Linked DNA regions of Homo sapiens: regions 2, 3, 4 and 5 are each linked to region 1. The links are contacts of gene promoters, found by promoter capture Hi-C in blood cells and fetal thymus (Javierre and others, 2016). All regions are on one chromosome and are shown on one strand. The core of a region is centred on a gene start or on the middle of the fragment in contact, and the rest is flanking DNA. Distances in the headings are between cores, read along the strand shown.

Region 1 (2,577 bases), core at 78-2,577:
TTGCTCTGTTACGCAGGCTGGAGTGCAGTGGTGCAATCATGGCTCACTGCAGCCTCAACCTCCTGGACTCAAGTGATCCTCCCACTTCAGGCTCCTGAGTAGCTGGGACTACAGGTGCACGCCACTACTCCCGGCTAATTTTTTATTTTTTGTAGAGACAGGATTTTCCTATGTTGCTCAGGTTGGTCTTGAACTCCTGAGCCCAGGCAATCCCCCCCACCTCAGCCTCTCACAGTGCTGGGATTACAGGCGTGGGCCACTGCACTCTGCCAAAGCAACCAATTCTTTAGTTTCTACACGGATTAGAACCTTCCTTTTCTTTGACATAATCCTTTTGTCAAAAGACAGTTTTACATAAATTGTTTGGCACCCCACTCCATGCCTGGCGCAAAGCAGATATGTAAATGTGTGCCCATGCAAGAATCAAATCCTTTATGTCAGTCCAGAATGAAGTAGATAAAACAAGAAATGCTTATAAATTAAGGCTTTGGTGGCAGGATTTAGGCAGCTGAGAAAGCACACCTTTTTATTCTTCACAAGCATCACCTTGTGAAAGATGCCTACGCTCTTAGGTCGAGAGAGGAAATTTAAGAATGAATACACATTGGGCTAAAACTTTACTATATTTCATCCTAAGAGGGAACCAGACCTCGAAGTTGGGAAGGCTCTTGCTTATAAAGGGAAATGTGCCGTAATTCCTGTCATTTTACTTGGGTCTTTTAAAAACGGCAAATTCTCATCTTCCACTGGCTGAGAGTAAAAAGAAAGAAAAGCGGTAAAGACTTCTTTTTGTGCGTAGGTGGCCCCGGTGTTCACGCTGAATACAGATTTTTACACAATAAAATCTTAAATATCTCTACATGGAACGGAATCCATTTTTCCTGCCTCGGGAAGGATTTCTGCGCTCTCGGGTGAAGTTCCCGAAGCAAGGAACCAGTTCCCCTCTACCTGTACTCTTGAGAGGAATTCTCAGGTCATCTGAAACACAAGTATGGGCCAGGACGACCCATTCGTTCACGCGGCCCAGAGCTCTGCGAAACGGGACACGGCAGTGCAACGGGAACAACCGGACACCGAGGCCCCCGAAGGCTGAGGCCGCGGCAGAGGCGGCGGCACGGTGACGGGCGCGACTCCGGCCTTCCGGCTTTCTAAGGGGCGGCCCCGGGACACCTGAGCCCCGCGGGGCCGTGAACGCTCAGCACAGCTCCGGGCCGGAATCACGATCCACCACACCGCGCTGGCGCTGGGAACGGCGTCGGTGACGGACCGGGGGCCGGAAGTGAAGGACGGGGGAGGACCGCTGCTTCCGGCGCCGTAACTGCTGCCATCTTCTCCGCGCTATGGCTGCGTTCGGCCGTCAGGTAAGCTCGAGCTGGGCGCGCGGGCTTCTCCGGGTCGCAGGCGGGCGGGCAGCGACGCAGAGGAACCGCGGCCGCCGAGTGTTTCACGGCCAGGTCGTGGAGCCCTCCCGGAGGTCCGTGCACGCTGACCTGGTTTTGGCATCCTGGACCCGTGGCTCTGCTCAATTATTGTGGGATATAGAGTTGACATTTTTTTTTTTTGAGACAAAGTCTCGCTCTGTCTCCAGGCTGGAGTGCAATGGCGCGATCTCGGCTCACTGCAACCTCCGCCTCCCGGGTTCAAGCAATTCTACTGCTTCAGCCTCCCAAGTAGCTGGGATTACAGGCGCCCGCCACCATGCCTGGCTAATTTTTGTATTTTTAGTAGAGACGGGGTTTCACCGTGTTGGCCAGTCTGGTCTGTAACTTCTGGCCTCAGGTGATCCACCCGCCTCGAACTCCCAAAGTGCTGGGATTACAGGCGTGAGCCACCGCGCCCGGCCTGAGTTGACTGTTGAACAAGAGTTTGAACTTCACAAGGAAGATAACATGTACTTTTCATTAAGAGGAAGCGGAATCAGCATAGAGGTCTTTAGGCTTGAGCCCAGTTCCACGGGCCGCGCCCGCTGACCCCAGCGACTGCCAGGTGTTCCTGGCGGAGGGAGCATCTGGACAGGGGAGGCTGGAGAGCAGCCAGAGCTTGGGCTTGGCAGGGTGGCCCCAGGGCGACAATCGATGACGCTGGAGAAGGGGTTGGGACCGATGTGAAGGTTTTAGAGCAGGGGTTCCCCAACCCCCGGTACCGTCCCTTGCCTATTAGGAACCAGGCTGCACAGCAGGAGGTGAGCGGCAAGTGAGCCAGCCAGACTGTATTTACAGCCGCTCCCTTCGCTGGCATTACCGCCTGAGCTCCGCCTCCTGTCAGACCAGCCGCCTTAGATTCTCACTGGAGCGCGAACCCTATTGTGAACTGCGCCTTTGAGGGGTCCAGGTTGCGCTCCTTATGAGAATCTGATGCCCGATGATCTGTCACTGTTTCCCATCAACCCCAGATGGCACCTCCTGGTTGTAGGAAAACAAGCTCAGGGCTCCCAGTGATTCTACATTATGGTGAGTTGTATAATTATTTCATCTTATATTACAACGTGAAAATAACAGAAATAAAGTGCACAACAAATGTAATATGCTTGAATCATCCTGAAACCCCTCACCAGTCTGTGGAAAAATTGTCTTCCAT
Region 2 (2,577 bases), core at 22-2,521, 580 kb before region 1:
CTCTCCTACCACCTTTTTTTGTTTTACATCATTGTAGTAGGTTTCCTCTTCATTCAACACTTAATGTTGATGTGTGTTCTTTCAATGTTTTTATTTACATTTATATACATATGTAGAAACTACTATAGTTAGAATTTTGTTTTTTAACATAAATGAGGTCATACCATACAAATTATTTGGCAGCTTTCTTTCTAACTCTGCCTTACAGATTTCTGCACTTACAGATCCCCTAACTCTGCCCTTCTCATTCTCTTTAATTGTCGTCGCATTGTCTCTAGAACCACGGTACGTGTAGCCAGTTCCCTGCTGGTGAATCTTCAGTGGTTCCTCATCATCCGTGTTACATGAAACACTGCATTACTCTCCTCCGGCTTAGCTTTGTGTCTTGCTTGGAAAGGCTGTCCCCACTCCAAGTCTTAAATGAAAATGAGACCATTTTTAATAATCTTTTTAACACATCTAGAATTTATGGAGGCAATTGTTCTTCTGATTTTGCTTTTTGTGGCTTTGTAGAAAAGTGATGAAACACGTATATGCCCAATTTAAAATGAAGAATAATCCTGATTTTACTTTTTAGATAATAATCTTATCCCAGGTACCCAGGGCTACGTCTCTTGTGTCCATCTATTCTCCTACAGGTTACTTGTTTCCCTAATAGATATTTAAGTTTCCTCTATGTCTAACTGTGGCTTGATAGTTTTTTTTTGTTGTTTTGTTTTGGTTTTTTTTGAGACAAGAGTCTCGTTGTGTTGCTCAGGTTGGAGTGCAGTGGCTCAGTCTCGGCTCACTGCAACCGCCGCCTCCCGGGTTCAAGCATTTCTCCTGCCTCAGCCTCCTGAGTAGCTGGGATTACAGGCGCGTACGACCATGCACAGCTAATTTTTATGTTTTAGTAGAGACAGGGTTTCACCATGTTGGCCAGGGTGGTCTTGAACTCCTGACCTCAAGTGATCCTCCCACGTCGGCCTCCCACAGTGCTGGGATTACAGGCATGAGCCACCATGCCCGACCAATAGTTCATGTCTTTTTTGCCCTAATTAATAGTCCCTTGTTTGGATGTACCATAGTTCATTACCTACTAAAGGACATCTTTGTTGCTTCCAAGTTTTGGCAGTTATAAATCTGTTATAAACATCCTGGTGCAGGATTTTGTGTGGTCATAAGCTTTCACTTCTTTTGGGTAAATGCCAGGGAGCACCACTGCTTTAATATGTGGTAAGACTATTAATTTTTGTGAAGAACTGCTAAACCATGGGTATCCAGTCTTTTGGCTTCCCTGGGCCACATTGGAAGAAATGTCTTGGGCCACGCATAAAATACACTAACAATTGCTGATGAGCTTAAAAAAAAAAATCTCGTAACGTTTTGAGAAAGCTTAACAAATTTGTGTTGGGCTGCATGCAGCCTGCGGGCCTTGGGTTGGACAAGCTTGTGGTGAACTGTCTTCCAAAGTGGCTGCAGCATCTTGCATTCTCACCAGCAGTGAACAAGGGTTGCTATTGCTCCAGACCCTCACCAGCATTTGGTGTTGTCAGTGTTTGGATGTTTGCCATTCTGATAGGTGTGTGTGGCATCTCATTGTTCTAGTTTGCATTTCCCTGCTGACATATGATGTGGAGTATCTTTTCATATGCTTGTTTGCCATCTGTGTATCTGGTTTCGTAAGGGATCTGTTGAGTGCTTTGGCCCACTCTTTTTTTTGGGACAGGGTCTCAACCAGGCTAGAGTACAGTGGCACGGTCTTGGCTCACTGCAGCCTCTACTTCCCAGGCTCAAGCGATCCTCCTGCCTTAGCCTCCCAAGTAGCTGGGACTACAGGTGCATGCCACCATGCTAAGTTTTGTATTTCTTTTTTGTTTTCCTCGAGACAGTTTCATTCTTGTCGCCCAGACTGGAGTGCAATGGGGCGATCTTGGCTCACTGCAACCTACGCCTCGCAGGTTCAAGCGATTCTCCTGCCTCAGCCTCTCAAGTAGCTGTGATCACAGGTGCCCACCACCACGCCCGGCTAATTTTTCTATTTTTTAGTTAGTGATGGGGTTTCGTCATGTTGGCCAGGCTGGTCTTGAACTCCTGACCTCAGGTGATCCACCTGCTTTAGCCTCCCAAAGTGCTGGGATTACAGGCACGAGCCACCATGCCCGGCCAATTTTGTATTTTTTGAGGAAATGTGGTTTCACCATGTTTCCCAGGTTGGACTCAAATTCCTGGGCTCAAGTGATGAGCCTGCCTCCGCCTCCCAAAGTGTTGGGAATATAGGCATGAGCCATTACGCCCAGCCTTGGCCCACTTTTTAAGGGGGTTGGTTGATTTCTTATTTTTGAGTTTTAAGAATTCTTTGTATGCTTTAGATAACAGTCCTTTATAAAATGTGTCTTTTATACATATTTTCTCCTAGGCTGTGGTTTGCCTTTTCTGTTTTCTCACTCTCTTTCTCTCTTTTCTTTTTTTAGACAGGGTCTCTGTGTCATGCAGGCTGAGTGCAGTGCGCAATCACAGCTTACTGCAGCCTCGACCTCCCGGGTTCAAGTGATCTTCCCACCTCAGCCTCCCAAGTAGCTGCAACTATAGGCACGT
Region 3 (2,577 bases), core at 1-2,500, 530 kb before region 1:
AAAAAAACCAACACTCCCTATACACACACACACACACTCCTTCTCTTTCTCTCTCTCTTAGGACCCCAAGAAACTAAGACCCGATGATACAAATTCACTGTTTCTCTTTCTCGTCACGGAAAAGCAGCTTGGAGAATCTACTGGTTACTAAATTGAAGACAAAAACAAAAAAGATACGTATACTGTGATGAACACGTCACGTTTCTCTCCTCCAACCTACCAATAACTTCATAAAAGTTAAAGAGCTTCCATCCCTTCACGCTCAGCTGCGGAAAGGCTACGCTTTCGCCCGCCGCTCGCGTCCCCGGCCCGGACCGCGGCCGCCCCGTTCGCCGCCGCGCCTCTCCCCGCCCGGCAGGCTCCGCCGCCCTCCACGGCCGACCTGGCGCAAGGGCCTGTGCAGCCACAACCTCCGGAGCGCTCCGGACGGGACCGGAAAAGCAGAAGCTCCAGCGCAACCGACGGCGGGTTCCGCGGCGCAGTGCGCCGCCGTCCCCCTCCCGCTCCCACCGCCCACCACCCACCAACACCGCCCCGCGCTCCCGCAGCGCCCGCCGCCCCGGCCCAGCCTGGCCCGCACCGGCGTGCCCCGAGGCGAGTCGCGGCAGCCCGACCCGAGCAGGGGAGGCCAATGATAAGGCGAGCACCTCCTGCGGAAAGACCGACCCCCGGCAACTCCTCACCTGCGTCCATCTTCCCAGTCCGGCCGCCGACTGACCCGAGCGGCGTCGCTCCGACGGGCCAGCAACGCGACGCGGCGACGGGACGCCGCGGGGGCCAATAGGTGTGCCGGCGCAGGCGGCGAAGACGATACGGCGCGCGAGCGGAAATACGCGGGAGCCGCCATTTTGGCGTACGGCCGGGCCGACGCGAGCCCCGGGGCGCCCTGCGGGCGGCATGGGGTCGTGTCGTGGGACGACGGCTGGTTCTGCTGTCCGACGGGACACTGTGTGCCATGGGTGGCGCTTCCTCCTCTTAGAGGACCCAGGAGCAGTTGTCGAGGCGGCAGAGGCGAGCTCTGTCCCCGTCCGAGCAGCCATCTTGCGGTACGGACGTGCTCGGCGCGCCCATGTCGCGGTACGGACTTGCCCCGCCGGGGCGACTCCCCCGCCCGTCTGCCCGCCTGCCGACGGACGCTGCGAGGGGCCTGCGGCGCCCCGCTGGTCCGAAGACGCCCGAACCCGCGGCTGGCGAGGACGCGGGCGGGGGCTGGGGCGGGGGCGGGCCCGCTGCGGGCGCCTGCGCCTCCATCTTGCCGTACGGCGCGGACGCCGCGGGCCGGCCCACGTCCCGAGCCGTGTCGCCGCCGCGCTCCCTCCCTCGGGGCGGTCCGCGGGCGGGCGGGCGGCTAGGGCCGGGGCCTGGCTGCGCGGCTGGGCCAAGGCCCGCGATGGTGATCTGCTGTGCGGCCGTGAACTGCTCCAACCGGCAGGGAAAGGGCGAGAAGCGCGCCGTCTCCTTCCACAGGTACGCGGGCCCCGGGCCGCCACGCCCCCGCCCCGACCCGGCCCTGCGGGGAAACTGAGGCCCCGCGGCCGGCCCGAACGCGGGGGGCGGGGGCGCCGGGCCTCGGCGGCCGGGGCGCGGGGGAGCGGGCGTGGGCGCTGTGTGACCTTGGCCCGGCCGCCGTCTCTGGGCCGGGCGCCTCGGGCAGCGCAGCCGCCCCCACCCCGGCCGCCTGGGTCCGCCCTGCGCGCGATCGATCCGGCCGGCGCCTAGGCTTCAGAAGCCGCACGCTCTGGAAGCGCAGGTCCTGGGCCGATTGTCCTGCTCGGCCGCGACTGCTGACTCTCCGGACCGCGCGGGCCGTCGGCCTGGATGTCTGCGAGCAGGAGCGACCGGGCAGACGCGACCTGCGCCTCCGTAGCTGACAGCCCCCGAGAGGGCTTTCCGGGACTGGGCCCCCGAGCCCAGGACGCGGGTACGCGCGGAGAGTCTACGGGACGGCCGGCTGGGGACGGCATCCTCCTGCGCTCCCTTAGAGCCTGGCCCGGGGCTCTCGGCCGCTTCCCACGTGGGCCCCCGCGGCAGGGCCCAAACCCCTCTAAGGCCTTGTGAGTTCAGCCTATTTCAGTGAGATTTCTGCGGATTACACGCGGGAGGCACCAGAACCGCGAACAGACTTTAAAAACCACTTTGGAGATGTTTCTGTTTTATGTTGCATGGTGTTATTTAAGTTTTAAAGACGGGAATGGCACGTGTTATTTATAGGGTTATTGAAAGTTCACAGTAGTTTGCTGTAAGTCTTAAATCATTACAATGTATTATAAGAATTAGTAACATTAGATTATTTCACAAGTCAGCCAGCGCACTTTCTTGACAATTTCCTTCAGAGCTTGTGTCCTAGAAGTTTTGTTATTGTTTTTTGAAAACGAGGCAACGTGTTGCAACGGTCTAACATGGTATGGGAGGAAAGGACATCGGAATTGGGGGTGGGGGGGTACCTTTGCAGTTGGCCTCACAGTGTTCAGAAAGGAGGTTAGAAGGTCCTGTTGCTTAGAACGGCCCAGTCCATCCTGTTAGGATTTGTCCTGGTCCACACTGGCCTCAGGTGGAGCAAATAGCAGTTAGAACTGA
Region 4 (2,577 bases), core at 40-2,539, 530 kb after region 1:
AGTATGAACCCCCATGCTGTAGGCAGGAAAGGCCCTGCTCCATCCTGTACACATCCCCACTGGTGGAGGTGGAGGGGGTGCTGCAGCCACAGCGCCAGCCTCAGCCACCTGGCCTTTCTTGCAGAGTCTCTGGAGTGGTGGGTACCCAGTGTGCAAGCCCTGCAGAGCCTATGTGTGTCTATGTTGGGGTCGCGGGGCCCACTGGTCTCAACACTCCACCAGTGCTGGCCAAGGAAGCCCCAAACCGAGCATCACAATCTCCATGGCCCTTTCCTCTGCCTCTGGCTTGGACTCATCTGCACGCACTGGTCACATGGAGGCCCTTCCGCAGCTGACACTCCAGCCCAACCCTTGGTGCCAGGATCCTGCAGATGTACACCTCGGTGGGTGACAGAAGCTGCTCATGTCCCCAGGCAGGGACCAGACACCTGAACGGGAGGCTTCCCGGAGTGACATGCTGTCCCGTGTCCCCGCAGGACTCCGGCTTCTATCCGAGGGTCCTAAGGGCTCACAGGCAACAGCTGGGAATCACCGGGGTGGGGGGAGGGGGGCACCTGTAGGGCGCAGATTCGCGTCCCTCAGCCTGGCCGTGCGGCGAGAGGCCGCTAGCAGCGCCCTGCGGACCGGCCCGCAGCCCCGGCGCCCGCCCCGGACTCACGGCGGGGGCGTCGGTCGAGGTGTACCGCAGGATGACCTGGAAGGGCTGGTGCGCCTGCAGCTCGGGCGGCAGCGTGACGGTGAGCGAGGAGCCGTAGTCGGTGAACGGGTCCACCCTGAAGGCCAGCGGACAGCAGGCGGGCTCGGAGCCGGGCGCCTCGGGGAAGGCGGGCAGCGGGGGCGGCGGCGCGGGCCCCGGCCCGGGGGCGGAGAAGGCGAAGGCGCAGGGCGTCTCGGCGGCGGCGGCGGGGGCGCGACGGAAGGCGGCTGAGTGCAGGCGCAGAGCCGGGTGCGCGTCGAGCACGAGCGCGCGGGGCGCGGGCCGCAGCGCGCACAGCTCGAGCACCAGGCAGCCGGCCAACTCGCGCGCCTCGGGCCGCAGCTCCAGGCCCAGCTGCAGGTGGCGGAGGCGGAAGAGCTGCGCGCTGGAGGCCGAGGCCACGTCCAGGGCGGGCGGCGGCTCGGGCGGCGGGCGGACGGGCGCGGCCTCGGCGCCGGGCGCCTGGCGGCAGCAGCACTGCGCGGCCATGGCCGCCGGCACTAGGTGAAATCCATGGGCGGCGGCCGCGCCGGGCCGCGGGCGAGGGGCGCCGGGCGGCGGCGGCGGCGGGGCGCGGGCACAACAGGAAGTCGCGCCGGGAGCCGCCCGGCCCGGCCCCGCGCCGTGCGCCGCCCCGCTCGGGCTCCGCTCGGCCGCCGCCGGGGGCGCTGTGCGCGGGGCCGGGGCGCGGGGCCGGGGCGCCGGGCGGGGAGGGCCAGGAGCCAGGGGCGCGGGGAGCCGGGGAATCGAGCGCGGCGCGGGGCCGGGGCGCTGTGTTGGGAGCCGAGGCGCGCGGAGCGGGTGAGCAGCACCCCCAGCCCCTCGCTTCCTCCCCGGGCGGCGCCCGGGAGATCCCAGGAGGCGGGATCGCTGCTCCCTCCCAGACACTGCCGGCCAGGCCCCTGGGGCAGCCGCTGAAGGGACCCGGGAACCTTGGGGCCACAGGGGCAGGCTGCTTCCAGGTGTGGTTCGTGTTCCCGAGGAGCGCAGCGTCGCGAACTCAATGTCATCCTTTCATCCGGGGCTACGGGCAGGGCAGGATTCTCCTGGCACCCCTGCCACTCCTCCAAGTCTACAGGTGTGGTCTGTGCTGTGGGCCCTGCGGTGCGAGAAGCGCCGGAGCCTTCACGCAGCGCTGTCAACTACAGCAGCCACCAACCACGTGTGGCCATTTAGATGCGAATTAAATACAGTTAGAAGTTCAGTTCCTTCGTGGCAGGTGGAGTGAGTGAGTGTGTGTGTCTTCCTGGGAGGAGTGGCTAATGGACAAAGCAGGCAGGAATCATTTCCACAATCGCAGAAGTTCCTCTGGGCAGTGCTGGGGACCTCTCATTTGGGAGCCCTGTGCTGGGGTACGAAGGAGGGTCTGGCCCGCCTGTCCCCACCCCATCCGCCAGGTCCACCCTTCCCAACGCCATTCTCTGTGGACCTGGCGAAGGCTGCCCAAGGCTGAGCCTGTCCAGGAGCCTGAGCCCCGAGGGAAGGGGTGCTCGCCTGGCAGAAGCTGCTAGTGAGCTCACAGCGGTTAAATTTTGAGGCTGTGGAATAACAGGGGCCACCATGATGTCGCTGTTGTCATCAAGTAAGAATTCAAATTCCTAGGGACAAGGGGCTTCTGGGGCTGGGGAACTATCCAGGAACCCAGGACACCTCTCTCTTCTGCTCCATTGAGGTGTGGCCGTGCAGGGCTGGACTCGGGTACCGCACTCGACTCAGCGTCAGCCCTGAGTAGTGTTTCCTGTGTCTGGACTCAGTCTCCTCGTTGTGTAACCCTCTGTGTCTACCCTCCTTCCGTGGGGCGGGAAGGAAGGCTGAGAGGGAGAGTGTGCGTTCACGTTTGCGGGACAGAGCACTGAGGCATCATTTCAGTTTTCCCGTAG
Region 5 (2,577 bases), core at 29-2,528, 510 kb before region 1:
ACCTTGACGAGTGTCCGGAGTTTAGAAAACTTAGGGATGGGTAAGCCTGCTTTCAGTGTCTTGGGCCAAAACATGAAAATTTAAATTTCTTGCAGGAAATTTAAATTTTTGTTTTTGTGTTTTGGTTGAGATTTCAATAAAAGAAAAATGAAATCAGAAAAGAAATGCCTAGAAAAGCCTGTCTGGTTTATTTAAAGAGGTGGAAAGTGACAAATAGACTAGGTCCTTTATAGTATTTTTTGTTTCATGTTTAAATTTATTTTTTTCTAATGAAGTATAATTTACAGAGAGTAAAATACACAGATATTGAGGTCACAGTTTGATGGATCTTAACATATATCTAGGCTCAAGTAACCTGATGTTTGGATTCTAAAATTCTCTTACTGGTCGTCCTCACCCCCACCCATGCTTCAGTGACAACAAGGAGGGACAGTGGCTAGGCTGCTGCCACGTTCCACGCGGCCCGAAGTGGTGGAGGGTGCAGGGGGAGCGGCCCCAGGAGCAGGTTAACCTGGTGAGGTGCAGTGTAGACAGAAGGAGGCGCCGCCGCTGCTTGTTTACTGCCTGACCTGTTGTCCCTGTCCAAATTAAACTCCATTAAGATTCAGAGCAAATAACAGCAAGCCAGGAGGGCGACAGGAAGGGAAGTATTTCTCACAGCCATTAGTTGCTCACAGCCGTAAGCCTCCATCTAGTTGCTTAGCCGCGTGCTCCTTCCTTTCCAGTCTGATGTTATTTTTTCTGCTCAAAAGCGTTTCTTCTGAATTTCAGAGCTATCTTAGAATTCTCTAGTTTTTTAAAAAGAAATTGCCACATAAGTGCTGCGTCCTGTCCTGTCCCCAAGTGTGGTGTGGGCCCTGTGCCCCTGAAGCAGCAGCCGCCTGCAGGGTAGCTTCTCTCCAGGGCCCGCGGGACTTGCTTCCCTGACCTGGCATGCACATAGCAAAGTCCACTCAAAAGCTCACTTTTAGCCAGAATTTTTGAGGCAGCCTCTCCCTACCTGTTCTTACCAGGACACCATCCCCCTGCTCAGGTGCCACTGCTTACCCGCTCTGTGGTGGGCCTCTCTGGTCCTGATGCCAGGGCTCGCCCTCAGCTCTCGTGCGCCTGCACCCGCCCTTCTCACTGATGTCACGGGTCGCCTTCCAAGCTGCCAGCAATGCCAGCTGCTGGCCATCTCCAGCCCACCCATCCCTCTTATCTCACTCTCATTTCCATCTCCCTTGGGCTAGTCGTCGAGGCAGAAAGCCCGGGCCACGTCCCTCCTACGTAAAAGGTTCTGGCCCATCCAGGCCCACTTGGGGGAATAGATGGTCCAGTTCAACTTGACCAGACTTCAGATAAGCCCAGTTCTTCTGAGGAGCCAGCTGTGCTCACCTGTCCTTGCCAGCCCCCTGACTGAGTTCTCCCAGGCGTCTTGTGGCAGGGGCTCTGGGCTGCTCCAGCTGCAGGACTGGGGCAGAGTGTGTCCCCATGGGCGCCCTCCTTGCTTCCAGGCCAGCCGGGCTGGGCCTGTGTCTAGAACCAGCTCCCCAGCATCCTGAGGAACGCGAAACCTACTCAGAAACACGGCTGAGGGCGGCGAAGAGCTCTCCTGATGTGTCGGGAACCGTGGGCTTGGGGCACGGGGATGTGCTGGGTGGCTGCCAGTGGCGTCCTCACTCCCACCTGGGAGAAGAGAGGAGTGAAGAGGAGAGGTGGGAGGTGAGAGGCACCGGGCAGGGCGCTGTGTGTGGCTCCAGCCCTCTCTGGCCCTCTGCACCTGCCCCAAGGTATGCGACTCACACCACAGTGGTGTCATTTGTTTTAATTTGAACAGATGTTTAGAAATTGGGATATTTTAGCCTAAAATCAGCTTCTGGCTTTTCTCGAAATATTAGATCTGCAGTAGGTGCTGCAGCTTGGATGGCAGCAGACCCTGGGGCCAGGAGCCAAGGCCCTGAGCTGTGAGGCCGACCTCACTCCCCACCACATCCCCTGCTCTGAGGCCACCCAGAACCCTGTGCTGCAGTAACATAGTAAACACTCTTGGGATAAAATGCTTTTAGTTTTTTTAAGTTTTCTGCTTTTTGAAATATTAATTTGTTTGGGGAGGTTTTTCTTTATAACATTTTTATTGAGGTGTAATTCGCATAAGTGAAACACAAGCTCCTAGGTGTTCCCGTGGTGAGTTTTGGCAGGTGCAGGCGCTTGTGCAGCCACACCCACGTCCAGCGGTCCAGGTTCTCCTTTGCACTCCCCTCCAAGCCCCTCCCCGTCACCGTTCAGATTCCCCACCCTCCATCCTTTCTGCCTGGTCTCGAATTTCATCTAATTGGAATCATAGAATATATACGTTTTTGTCTGGCTTCTTTCTTTTCGCGCAGTGTTTTCAAGGGACACCTGATTGATTTTCATTTCTAGTCTCACTGCATTGTGATCAGACAGTAGACTTCTTTCTGCTTTCTGGAACTTACAGGCTTTCTTTGACCATTTAGAAGGCCAGTTTGCATGACTGTTCCAGAGGAACTTGAAGAAGGCATTCCTTAGTTTTGTTTTTGTTTTTGTTTTTGTTTTTGTTTTGAGATGGAGTTTCGC

What was found. Contacts are between HindIII fragments. The CHiCAGO score rates a contact against its expected background, and 5 or more counts as called.
Region 2: a fragment that was not itself captured here is called in contact with the fragment with the promoter of MTERF4 in region 1 in 1 of 17 cell types (total B cells); the score reaches 6.7 in total B cells.
Region 3: a contact is called between the fragment with the promoter of THAP4 here and the fragment with the promoter of MTERF4 in region 1, in 8 of 17 cell types (erythroblasts, naive B cells, M0 macrophages and 5 more). The highest score is 10.3, in erythroblasts.
Region 4: the fragment with the promoter of RNPEPL1 here is called in contact with the fragment with the promoter of MTERF4 in region 1 in 2 of 17 cell types (non-activated CD4 T cells and naive CD4 T cells); the score reaches 6.0 in non-activated CD4 T cells.
Region 5: a contact is called between a fragment that was not itself captured here and the fragment with the promoter of MTERF4 in region 1, in 1 of 17 cell types (total B cells). The highest score is 7.1, in total B cells.

Annotation. Positions count from the first base shown.
Region 1 is chr2:241,101,037-241,103,613 of GRCh38, reverse strand. It overlaps MTERF4 (mitochondrial transcription termination factor 4), which reads left to right and starts at 1,327. Exons shown (of 4, transcript NM_182501.4): 1 at 1,327-1,361. The coding sequence starts at 1,341. RefSeq lists enhancers at 1,001-1,540, 1,541-2,080. The HindIII fragment of the contact is 6,512 bases long and covers 1-2,577 here.
Region 2 is chr2:241,682,210-241,684,786 of GRCh38, reverse strand. The region is part of intron 2 of DTYMK (deoxythymidylate kinase); the gene reads left to right. Among named protein-coding and RNA genes, the nearest start is that of DTYMK, 3.3 kb to the left of the region's middle. The HindIII fragment of the contact is 210 bases long and covers 1,167-1,376 here.
Region 3 is chr2:241,635,831-241,638,407 of GRCh38, reverse strand. It overlaps THAP4 (THAP domain containing 4), which reads left to right and starts at 1,250. Exons shown (of 6, transcript NM_015963.6): 1 at 1,250-1,467. The coding sequence starts at 1,391. ATG4B (autophagy related 4B cysteine peptidase) reads right to left here and starts at 715. Exons shown (of 13, transcript NM_013325.5): 1 at 684-715. The coding sequence starts at 693. RefSeq lists silencers at 258-397, 438-627, 648-697, 1,068-1,417, 1,448-1,517 and 1 more and an enhancer at 167-1,094. The HindIII fragment of the contact is 17,924 bases long and covers 1-2,577 here.
Region 4 is chr2:240,567,196-240,569,772 of GRCh38, reverse strand. RNPEPL1 (arginyl aminopeptidase like 1) reads right to left here and starts at 1,289. Exons shown (of 11, transcript NM_018226.6): 1 at 659-1,289. The coding sequence starts at 1,186. RefSeq lists enhancers at 1-203, 153-332, 204-842 and silencers at 603-652, 893-1,082, 1,223-1,282, 1,313-1,572. The HindIII fragment of the contact is 8,327 bases long and covers 1-2,577 here.
Region 5 is chr2:241,614,875-241,617,451 of GRCh38, reverse strand. The region is part of intron 2 of THAP4 (THAP domain containing 4); the gene reads left to right. Among named protein-coding and RNA genes, the nearest start is that of THAP4, 21 kb to the left of the region's middle. RefSeq lists an enhancer at 1,094-1,900. The HindIII fragment of the contact is 4,628 bases long and covers 1-2,577 here.